Regions from separate parts of the Homo sapiens genome. Here regions 1, 3 and 4 are each linked to region 2. Evidence: promoter capture Hi-C in human tissues and cell types (Jung and others, 2019). All regions are on one chromosome and are shown on one strand. Each heading gives the region's core, a stretch centred on a gene start or on the middle of the fragment in contact. The rest is flanking DNA. Distances are from core to core; before and after follow the strand shown. Region 1 overlaps CACNA1B (calcium voltage-gated channel subunit alpha1 B). Region 2 holds the start of ZMYND19 (zinc finger MYND-type containing 19). Region 3 holds the start of LOC105376328 (a long non-coding RNA gene). Region 4 holds the start of NRARP (NOTCH regulated ankyrin repeat protein).

Evidence for each region. Contacts are between HindIII fragments. The study calls those that stand out against the background at their distance.
Region 1: a fragment that was not itself captured here is called in contact with the fragment with the promoter of ZMYND19 in region 2 in 2 of the 25 tissues and cell types used here (dorsolateral prefrontal cortex and lymphoblastoid cells).
Region 3: a contact is called between a fragment that was not itself captured here and the fragment with the promoter of ZMYND19 in region 2, in 1 of the 25 tissues and cell types used here (lymphoblastoid cells).
Region 4: a contact is called between the fragment with the promoter of NRARP here and the fragment with the promoter of ZMYND19 in region 2, in 1 of the 25 tissues and cell types used here (lymphoblastoid cells).

The regions. Positions count from the first base shown.
Region 1 is chr9:137,931,464-137,934,163 of GRCh38, reverse strand. All of the region lies in intron 6 of CACNA1B (calcium voltage-gated channel subunit alpha1 B), which reads right to left. Among named protein-coding and RNA genes, the nearest start is that of CACNA1B-AS1, 14 kb to the left of the region's middle. The HindIII fragment of the contact is 9,868 bases long and covers 1-2,700 here.
Region 2 is chr9:137,589,178-137,591,877 of GRCh38, reverse strand. It overlaps ZMYND19 (zinc finger MYND-type containing 19), which reads left to right and starts at 1,366. Exons shown (of 6, transcript NM_138462.3): 1 at 1,366-1,665. The coding sequence starts at 1,615. LOC124902318 (a long non-coding RNA gene) reads left to right here. Exons shown (of 3, transcript XR_007061885.1): 3 at 770-839. RefSeq lists silencers at 821-890, 1,081-1,470, 1,751-1,860, 1,911-1,960 and an enhancer at 2,231-2,280. The HindIII fragment of the contact is 9,636 bases long and covers 1-2,700 here.
Region 3 is chr9:137,160,067-137,162,766 of GRCh38, reverse strand. It overlaps GRIN1 (glutamate ionotropic receptor NMDA type subunit 1), which reads right to left. Exons shown (of 20, transcript NM_007327.4): 9 at 1,570-1,711; 10 at 1,351-1,478; 11 at 679-843; 12 at 477-595; 13 at 251-363; 14 at 28-176. It overlaps LOC105376328 (a long non-coding RNA gene), which reads left to right and starts at 1,707. Exons shown (of 3, transcript XR_007061878.1): 1 at 1,707-2,583. The HindIII fragment of the contact is 6,049 bases long and covers 1-2,700 here.
Region 4 is chr9:137,300,837-137,303,536 of GRCh38, reverse strand. It overlaps NRARP (NOTCH regulated ankyrin repeat protein), which reads left to right and starts at 1,266. Exons shown (of 1, transcript NM_001004354.3): 1 at 1,266-2,700. The coding sequence starts at 1,609. The coding sequence ends at 1,953. RefSeq lists silencers at 707-1,346, 2,029-2,108, 2,179-2,238, 2,359-2,408 and an enhancer at 1,049-1,967. The HindIII fragment of the contact is 30,312 bases long and covers 1-2,700 here.

The sequences.
Region 1 (2,700 bases), core at 191-2,690, 340 kb before region 2:
CCTGTTTAAAAGACAGCCGAAAAATAAGTAAATGCCTACCAACTTTCCTTGGTGTCTTTGTTGCATACTTATCGTAAGCTGGATATTGGTAGCTATTTTTTATATTTTTACAATTTGTTTTATTCAAAATGGATGGAATCACTTCCTTTGTAATAATTAACCAAAGTGTTTCAATTCATTTTTATAACAAGCATTCCTGACAGCATAGGTATCCACCCCCTGAAGTTCCCATTCTATAGGACAAAATAACAAATAAGTAATTTTTTTTTTGTTCCATAATGGTCACCCACAGCCTGTGTATACAGGAACCATGTCTTACTAGCAATCAGCTTTATTTCACAACAGAGCTTCCCTTTACCCCTCCAGCAATTAGTGGATTCTGGGTATTTATTAAGAACTTTAAATTTAACACAAAGACTTAAATACCACCAGCCCAGCCCTGGCAAAGGACTGTTGGTTTTGTTTATCTCCATCATCATCTAAATATACTGCCATCCTGATCCCAGCCCAATCTTGGGCCCTTAAGGAAATGACCTATCACCCTAACTACAAAGGAGGAACTCTCTTCAAACTAATGAGCCTGGATGACATACATGAATTCAAAATCATGGAAATGACAAGGGTTACAATGACAGGATAAGCAGTAAACCTACTCCAATCCCATCTGAGCAACCTTTCTGGAGTTGCATCCCCTCAGAAACCAATTTGGGGCCCAATATAAATGTACACAGAGCTAAAATTGCAGGTGCCACTTTGTATTAACAGAAGCGAAAATTCTGGTCCGGTCCTTGGAACCTTGAAAAGTCATCAATGTGCCGGACGCGGTGACTCACACCTGTAATCTCAGCACTTTGGGAGGCCAAGGCGGGCAGATCATGAGGTCAGGAGATTTGAGACCACTCTGGCTAACACAGTGAAACCCCATTTCTACTAAAAATACAAAAAACTCACACCTGTAATCCCAGCACTCTGGGAGGCCGAGGCAGGCAGATCATGAGGTCAGAAGATTTGAGACCATTCTGGCTAACACAGTGAAACCCCATTTCTACTAAAAATACAAAAAACTAGCCGGGCGTGGTGGCACGCGCCTGTAGTCCCAGCTACTCAGGAGGCTGAGGCAGAAGAATCGCTCGAACCTGGGAGGTGGAGGTTGCAGTGAGCTGAGATCGCACCATTGCACTCCAGCCTAGGCGACAGAGAGAGACTCCATCTCAAAAAATATAATAAATAAATAAATAAATAAATAAAAGTAAAGATAAAATAAAGTCATCAATGCAACTACACCCTGGAAGTTAATCCTTCACTCGATTACGTAAGCTATACAGTTACCCAAACCGCATCATTTAGATAACCTGTACGGTTTTCATGGAAACCATCCCTGGTTAAGGGCTTTAAAGGATGGACAGCCTAAGTATGGTCGAGGCAGGCCCACTAGCTGCATTCACGGTTTCCCTTGTGAAGAATGTACTAATCCTGAGACGTCTAGTTGCCTTTTGGTTCCCCAGTATGAAAATACCTCTGGGTGATTGTTACTGGACACTAAGCCTAACTACCTCCACTGGGAAAAGAGAACTGCTGGGGCAACTCAAGATACTTCCCAAGATCCTTTCCAGCCTTTAACCAGGGCCACCTTAGCAAAGACCTCAACCATATGGGAAAGTGAAAACAACAAGCTAGCCCATGTGTTCACCATAGAAAACAAGTTCTGTCTTGAAAAACAAGGAGCCTTTTTCCCGTGCGGGACCAGTTCCTACTTAGATTTACCAGCCAACTGGACTGGAACCTGTAACTTGTTATTTAGCTCCCAAAATTAATGTAGCTCCCAACAACCAATTCTTCACTATACCTTTAACTGCAACCACCAGACACAAATGAGCCATCCAACTCACACCCCTTTTGGTTGGGTTAGGAAGAACAGCAAGAGTAGAAACGGGAGTTAGCAGGCTTGCAATCTCCCTATCCTATCACTAACTTGTCCAGAGATTTTATGGAAAGCTCAGAAGACACTGCCCAAAGTATCGTCGCCATACAAAATCAGACAGACTCCTTGGCAGCAGTCACTTTACAGAATTGAAGGGGACTGGATCTCCTAACTGCTTAAAAAGGTGGCTTATGTCTTTTTCTAGAGGAAAAATGCTGTTTTTATGTCAACTAATCAGGATTAGTAAGGGATGCCGCCTGGAAATTAGCTGACTGGGCCCCTAAGATACGACAACAGCTGTCTGAGTCATGGGGCTCCTGGTCAGAAATGCTAAGTTGAGGTGCATGGCTCCTTCCTCTAGCCGGCCCATCACTAATGACTATATTTGCCTTGGTTTTTGGACCATGTTCATTAAATCTCTTAAACAAATTCATTTCCTCTCGCCCAGAGACCATCAAGCTTCAGATGATCATGAGACAAGGTTTCCAGCCAGTTCCAGGTAAAGACACCACCCCTGGCCATCCAGCAACTACCATGTCTCCACTAGACAGAGCAGGGTGAGAGTTCCATGATCCCCAATAGGTAGGAACTGTGCCCAAATCAGCATGAAGCAGTTACTGAAGAAAAAACCATCAGTCCCTCGGCCTCCTATAAAGATGATGGGGATCACATCTCGGGGGAAATGAGGCAGGAGAATAGGGTCTGGAGGCAAGGAACCTAAGGCCGATTTGTGCTGACTTCCTAGAACTAAATCAAAAGGAAAACTCCACCTCTCCACA
Region 2 (2,700 bases), core at 117-2,616:
GGCCTCCCAAAGTGCTAGGATTACAGGCATGAGCCACCGCGCGCGGTCGGACAGGCATGTTTTGAGCAAGGCCCAGCCTGAACCCCAATGTGTGTCTCAGGCAGGCCAGGACTCATCAGCCCCTTCAGTCCTCTAGGGTGTCTGGGGTACTGGCAAGTACCAGGGGACCCAGAGATGGAACGTCTGGGCTCACTCATGTACACCCTTTGCAGGCTGGGGCACGGTGGCTCATGCCTGTAATCCCAGCACTTTGGGAGGCCGAGGTGGGCCGATCACCTCAGGTTGGGAGTTCGAGACCATCCTGGCCAATATGGAAAAACCTCACTTCTACTAAAAATACAAAAATTAGCCGGACATGGTGGCGCGTGCCTGTAGTCCCAGCTACTCGGGAGGCTGAGGCAGGAGAGTCGCTTGAACCCGAGAGGCAGAGGCTGCAGTGAGCCGAGATCGTGCCACTGCACTCTAGCCTGGGTGACAGAGCAAAACTCTGACTCAAAAAAAAAAAAAAAAAAAGCAAGAAAAGAAAACGGAACCCAGCAAGCCAGAAAGGAGCCTGTGCAGCTCCTCAGGTGCAGGAGTCGCCCTTGAGGCAGGGTGAGGCCTCCTCACGGGCGACTGGACACCGGCGGAGCAGGACGCAGGACCTAGCCCCGTTCGCTCCAGGCTGCAGGGGAGCCACGCTGCCCACCACGGCGTACCCAGTCCCTCCCTGAGCGGGTCTCGGCTTTCCCGCGGAGCCTAATGGGCCTCACTGGAGTTCCGTTTCCAGACGCCTTGGACCAGGCTGCTCTGGAGGTCAGCCGCCCCCGAGGCTGAAGAGCCGGCGGCTCGGAGAAGGCTGCGCGGGAGGCCGCGCCCTCCGGGTCGCGTGGGCCGGGCGTCCGCTGTCTCTCCAGAAACACCCGCGTCCCGCGGCAACGGCCTCTTCCTAGCCCGCCTCGCCCGCTCCCCGCCCGCCCAGAGGGCCCCGCACGAGCTCCGTCCACCTCCTCCTTCCGCGCTCGGGGCCAGGACGGCGGCGGGAAACAGCTTACGGAGGCTACCGCAAGGGAGGCGAAAAGCAGCCAGCTCGCAGAGCTCCACGGACCCGGCGCGAGTCCCCAGCCACACTCCGCACTGCCCCTCTAGGCGCGGCGCCGCTGCCCGCACAAAGCTTCCCGCGAAACTGACGTCGGCGCGCGCAGGCACCGCCCCCGGCCTCGCCCCTCCCCCGCGCTCGCCCCGCTCCCCAGAGCGCCGGCGCACTCGCCCTCCTCCTATTGGTTGTTGCGGGGCGGCGCGCGCCGGTCGGCGCCGTGCGCGCCTAGCCATTGGCCGAGCGGCGGCGGGCCGGGGGGTGTGTCCGGGGCTGCGCCCCGCCCCTCCGCTCCGCTCGCTGTGGTGCGCGCGGTGGCGGTGGCGGCGGCGGCGGCGGCGCGTGGCAGGTCCGGCGGGCGCGAGGCGGCGGCGGAGGCCCGAGCCCGGCCCAGCCTCGTCCCGCCCGGAGCCCGCCTGGCTGCTACCCCGACCCCGGCTCCGGTCCCGTCCTGTCCCGGCGCGCCGCGGCCTCGCCCCGGCCCCCGCTCGGCGCCTCCCGAGGGAGCGGCGCTGCCGGCCGAGAGCGCAGGCCCGGCCATGACCGACTTCAAATTGGGTATCGTGCGGCTCGGCCGGGTGGCCGGGAAGGTGAGCGGCGCGGAGCCCGCGACCCGGCCCGTCTCGCCCGTCCAGGCCTCCGCGCGGGGCCGGGGGCGGTTGTGCGGGCGGCGGCCGGGGCGGGGGCGCGGAGCCCGGGATGGGCCCCAGCGGGGCGGGGGACGCTGCGCGGGCCCGGCTGCTGGCCCCGCGCGGGTGCAGCTTCCTCTCGCAGGCCGGCGGGCACGCACCCCTCGGCTCTGGGGTGCACCTGGCCACCCTCGGCCCTGCCCTGCCGGAGGTGGAGGCCACGGCCCTGTCCCGAGCCGGGTGCGGAGATGCGTGGCTCGAGCCCGAGCCGCGTTCTCCCGGAGCCCTCCCAGTGGTGTCGGCGATCCGGGGCCTAGCGCGGCGTCCGGGCTGCCAGTGCGGCCACACGGTTTAAACACAGCGCCCTTTCCGAGGCAGCGCCACTTCCACACCTCTCGCCGAGGCGGGTCTGGTGTGGGCTCTTCTGTGCCTCCCAGTTCTCAGCAGGGCTTCAGGCTCGTTTTAACGCTGCCAGGGGTTGGCCACGTTAGGCTGAGCCTCAGACTCGGAGCAGAGAGGAAGAAGCCTGGGCCCTGATGCTGCAGACTCAGGGCCTTCCTCGACTTCTCTTCTTACTTGGCCCCCACGCTCCACGTTTGAGGCTGGGGATTCCATGGCACCTGTGGGCATTGAGGCTTGGCGGTTTCTCGGAGCCACCTGTGCAGCTGCACCAGCCAGGGTCCTTACCCGGATGGGAGCCCTGTTCCCGTCACCAGCGGCTGCGGCTTTTGGTGGGAGAGAGGAGCCGAGGCAGTGTCAGGCGGCGTCAGGTAAAACAGGTTCAGATCCCAGAAGAAAAACTGCCAAGAGGGAGACTGGCCCGTTCTGGGACCTGTTCCTGTTTCCTGCCCCTGCTGCAAGAGCATAGGCAGGGCCTGCTGGGGAGGAGGCTTTTTTCCACCAGGGAAGGGTGGGCTCTCCAGTCAGGTCGGAGACCAGAGACCCCTTCTAACTCCACCCATGATGGCATTGTCATCCCTTACAGCTTTTCTTTGG
Region 3 (2,700 bases), core at 3-2,502, 430 kb after region 2:
CCCTCCCCCAGCCCGGCCAGGCCTCACCCGAGGGTCGTTGATGCCCGTGATGCGCTCCTCCGGCCGGTCCAGCACCAGGAAGGCCGCCAGGTTGGCGGTGTAGGAGGCCACGATGATCATGGCAAAGCCGGCCCACACCATGCCCAGGATGCGCGCTGAGAAGCTTCTGGGGGCGCCTGTGGGCGGGCGGGGGGCTCTGTCAGACCCTAGAGGGCCGAGGCGGGACCAGGCGGGCCGGGCGGGGCCTTACCTTCCCCGATGCCGGAGTTGAGCAGGACGCCCCAGGAGAACCACATGGCCGAGGACAGGGTCAGTGCGTCCTCCTCCTCCTCCTCGCTGTTCACCTTGAACCGGCCGAAGGGGCTGCGGGGCGCAGAGGGCGGGCGGGAGAGAGGGCGGGAGAGGCGGCCCTGCCCCGCCCCTGGCCGGCTCCGCGCCCCGCAGATGGAGGTGTCTGAGCCCCGGGTCGCGCTCACCTGAAGCGGTCCAGCAGGTACAGCATCACGGCCACCACGTGCACCGACAGCCCCACCAGCAGCCACAGTGTGCTCTGGAACGGCTGCATGAACGAGTCCAGCGTGCTCCGGGGAATCTCCTGCGGAGGGACGCGAGGTCAGCGCGGCCCGGGCCCTCCAGGGACTCCCCCCGCCGCCACCCCGCCACCCGGCCCCTGCCCACCTTCTTGACCAGAATAGTCAGGCCCTGGTACTTGAAGGGCTTGGAAAACTCGATGTACTGCGCGCGCTCGTTGTTTATGGTTAGCGGCGCCACGATCATGTCTGCCTGCCCGCTGAGCAGCTCGCCCATCATCCCATTCCACTCCTTCTTGTTGCTGTTGTTCACCTGCGAGGCGACAGAGCCGGCGGGCATGCAGGCAGCGTCCTCCCAGCTCCCGCCACAGGTACCCCCGACTGAAGCCGCCCTAGAGCACTCCGGGGGTCTTCTCCCCAAGACCCTACCCAGCTCGCAGGCCCCACCCCACTCCAGCCCCGCCCTGGCTCGCAGACCCCTCCCACGCCGGGCGGGCCCCACCACAGCCAGCAGGCCCCGCCCACTCCACGTCCCGCCCACTCCAGACCCCCGCCTGCAGGCCCTGCCCACTCCGTGCCCCACCCACTCCGACCCCCACGTCAGGCCCCTCCCATGTCAGGCCCCACCCAGCCCTCAGGCCCCGCCCACCCCATGCTTTACCCACGCCAGGACCCAGCCCGCAGGCTCCGCTCACTCCATGCCCCACTCACCCCAGGACCCCCCACCATCTGCAAGCCCCGCCTACTCCATGCCCCACCCACTCCGACCGCGCCTGCAGGCCCCTCTCACGCTGGTCCCCACCCCCGCCGTCCAGCCTACCCGCTCCTGTGTGCCGAACTTGCCATCTGCCACCAGGTGCACCTCGTAGGTGAAGTTCATGGTCCGTGCCAGCTTGATGAGCAGGTCGATGCAAAAGCCGTAGCAACACTGAGGCACCGTGTGGCGGGCTGGGTAGGTGCGGGCGGTAACTGCTGGGCTCCAGACCGCCCCACGCCCCGCGCCCTGCCCCGCGCCCCGCGCCCTGCCCCGCGCACTCACGGCTGCCCGGCGACGTGTCGTTGGGCCCGGTGCAGATCACCTTCTTGACTGGGTCGCCGTTGACTGTGAACTCCTCCTTGCATGTCCCATCACTCAGCGTGGGCTTGACGTACACGAAGGGCTCCTGGTGGATCGTCACAATCTGGGGGGGAAGGGGAGACCCAGCCTGGACCACCGACCTAAGGCTGCCCAGGGCGGCAGTCTCTTCTCAGCTCCCAGCCTCCCCTGGCGCCCCTCTTAATCCCCGACGCACCCCTCACACCCCCCGCCCTGCGCCGCCGGCCACTGCCCCTCTCTGGAGCTTCTTCACGAGCCCAAGTGTTCAGGACACGTCCTCCCCAGCCACCGTCAGCATCGTCTGCCTGCAGCCCCGGGGGGGTGGGGGCTGGGGGCTCAGAAAAGACTCCTGGAGAGCTGGACCCTTCTCTTGGCCACTTTTTCTCCAGTCTTGGCTTAGACATGATTCCCCGCCAGGTGCTGTGGCTCACGCCTGTAATCCCAGCACTTTGGGAGGCCGAGGCGGCCGGATCACGAGGTCAGGAGATCGAGACCATCCTGGCTAACACGGTGAAACCCCGTCTCTACTGAAAATACAAAAAAATTAGCCGGGCGTGGTGGTGGGCACCTGTAGTCCCAGCTACTCAGGAGGCTGAGGCAGGAGAATGGCGTGAACCCGGGAGGCGGAGCTTGCAGTGAGCGGAGACCGCGCCACTGCACTCCAGCCTGGGCGACAGAGCGAGACTCTGTCTCAAAAAAAAAAAGACATGATTCCCTCCAGCAGAGGAGCCGCTGATGTCCCGTGTATGCCAGGCATCTTCCTGGGGTGAGAAACAGCCCAGCCTGCAGGCTGACCCCCACCCTGCTGTGCCACGAGGACAGGGGCATGTCCACAAAGCCGACCCTGCACCTGCACAGGACCTGGGACCCGTGGGGCCACCCACCCGTGCCTCCCTTCATCCCGGCGCACTGCCTGTCCCGGCCCCCAGTCCCGAAGCCCTCAGGCTTTGAATGTAGGTCTCTGGCTCCTTTCTCTTGCCCGTGTGTACGTGCTCCACCGCGCCGTGGCCTCTTCGACCCACACTCCTGCTTGGGCTCGCCCTCCTGTCTGTCCTTCAAGGGACCATGGCATGG
Region 4 (2,700 bases), core at 17-2,516, 290 kb after region 2:
GCTCCGGTCAGCCAGGGTCTGTCCCGAAGGGAGCCTGCCCAGTTTTTCCTGCCAGTATGGGCACAGCATGGGGTGGGGACACACCCCTGTGGGGAGCCGGATGTGGGGACATGGAGCTGGTGGGCGGAAGCCTCCTCAGACAAGGCCTGGCATGGGGGTCTCCCCAGCCCGAGCTCAGAGCTGCCTGCGCGGAATTCCCGGCTTGGCTTCAGAAGGAATTCAAGCCCCAGCCTGCCTGGCCTCCTGCTCCGCGCCTGAGAATCACTCCTCCTTAATTTCCAACGACCACAGCGAGTTGTAAACTGTAAAACTCTAATGAGGAAATGCGCTGTGCTTCCCCTGCTAGTGCCTCCCGGTCAATTGTTAGAGTGGTCAATAAAAATGGGTTTTACAGTTTGGAAGCCAGGCGTTTCAGAATTCCCTTCTGGCCCTGGCGCCACACCTAGCCCTGCTCACCTGGGCAGGACCTATGTGTCCCGCATGCTGGTGCGTGGGCAGCAGAGGGAGGCAGGCCGCGGTCCCGACCCTCCCGCTGCGCCCCGGCCCGGGGCTTCCTCCCGAGAGGACAGCGGAACCCCCTTCACCGCCAGGCGATAGAAGCCGCGGTGGCCGGCCGGAGGCCCCTCGCATCAGTACGGTTGGGGCACACATAGGCTGAGCCGGCGGCCATGAGGCTGCCCGCGCGCGGGAAGGACCCGCGTGGCTGAAGGCCCCACGTCAGGGCCTGGAGTTGCCACCCGCGTGGACGGTGAGCCCGGAGGCGCGGGCTGGCCGGGGTCGCCGCGCGCCTCTCCGCTCAGAGGGGTCTCTCCTTCGCCACGGGCCTGAGATGCCCGCGAACCCCCTGCCCGGGAGAGGCCGCCCTCGGGGCCACCTGGCGGTCGCGCTCGGGTACCGGGCAAGGCCTGGGTCTGGCTGCTGAGGGAGCTTGGAATTCCCCGGGTGGCCGGAGGGAGAAGGGGCGGGACGACCGCAAAGAGACGCGGAGCGCCCGGGGGGCGCGCGGACGGCGGCGGCGACGGAGCTGGACCCCCCCGGCGGCCACCTGGCCTCCCCCGCCCAGGCGCTGCCGGCGACCAGCGCCCCCTGCCGCGAAGCGCGCCGCCGCCGGGACCCGCCCCCGGACCCCTGCGCACGGCACCGCCCACGCCCCGCCCCCATGTGGGCGCGGCCCAATCCCGGGGCCGCCGGCGCGCGCGTCACGGGCTGCCATTGTTATGCAAATATAAAGAAGGTAAAAGGCGCCCCGGCGCGGCGGGCGAGCTAGTGCTGCGGCGCGTGGGGAGGCGCCTTGGGACCGCGTGGGAGCCGCAGCCGAACCGAGTAGGGACCGGGACCGCGCGGCGCCGCCGTCCCCGGCCGGGCCCGGCCCCCGCGAGCCGAGCGCGCGCCCCCGTCGCCCACCCGGGCGCGGCTGGATGCGGCGGGGTCCCCGCGGCGGCGACCCCCGGCCCCGAGCGCCCGGAGCGCCCAGAGGCGGCGTGCGGGGCCCGGGGACGCCGCGCCCTCCATGCGCCGAGGCGCGCCCCGAGACAGCCGGGGGCCCGCGCCGCAGCCGCCGCCCGCGCTGAGCCCCGGCCCGGCCCGCGGCCCGCGCCCGGCGGCAGCATGAGCCAGGCCGAGCTGTCCACCTGCTCCGCGCCGCAGACGCAGCGCATCTTCCAGGAGGCTGTGCGCAAGGGCAACACGCAGGAGCTGCAGTCGCTGCTGCAGAACATGACCAACTGCGAGTTCAACGTGAACTCGTTCGGGCCCGAGGGCCAGACGGCGCTGCACCAGTCGGTCATCGACGGCAACCTGGAGCTCGTGAAGCTGCTGGTCAAGTTCGGCGCCGACATCCGCCTGGCCAACCGCGACGGCTGGAGCGCGCTGCACATCGCCGCGTTCGGTGGCCACCAGGACATCGTGCTCTATCTCATCACCAAGGCGAAGTACGCGGCCAGCGGCCGGTGATGCCCGCCGGGACCCCGGACCCCGGCCCTGCGCCCGCGTCGTCTCTGCTGTACCTTCCCGCCAACTACCTCGGTGCGCGCCCGGCTCGCAGGCCCCGCCAGAAGGCCCGTGGCCACGGCGAATACGGCGCGTGCGTCCCGGCCCCAGGGTCCGGCAGCCCCGCCGGCCGAGCGCCTCCCTGCGGCCTAGCCGGGCCCGGCCGGGCCGGAGCAGCTTCCCACGGCCCCCACCCGCTCGCCTGCCCGCCGCCTCGCGGGTGGGGGCGGGGCGCGGGCTCCAGCCCCTTTTGAAATTTGAGTCTCGCAACCAGCAAGTTCGGAATCCCGAGATACCGGATCCTCTGCGCAAAATGTTTTCTCCCGAAGGTGAAAGGCGGGCGGCGGGAGCCGAAGGCGGACTCGGAGCGCTCCGCCGCCGCCTTCAGGACCCGCCCGCAGGCCCGGGACGCGCCGATGCCGGCTGCAGCCGAGGAGCAGCCCCGAGGTCCGAGGTCCGCGCCGCTGGCGCGCGGCCGAGGAGACGCTCGGCTGTTCGCTGTTGCTGGTGTTCTAAACTATTTATCTTGTGTGTGTACATTTGTGGGTGGAGTTTGTGCGCCTGGTTTTTTTGTTTGGAAAACACTGCGTGGTCAATGTGGTTATGGGGGGGAGTGATGCATTTTTTTCTAGTCTTAAAACTAAAAACTTGAGTCTACCATTTCTTGGTTGCACTGAAAATACCGCCCAGCCTGATGGTGTTCCCGTGCTG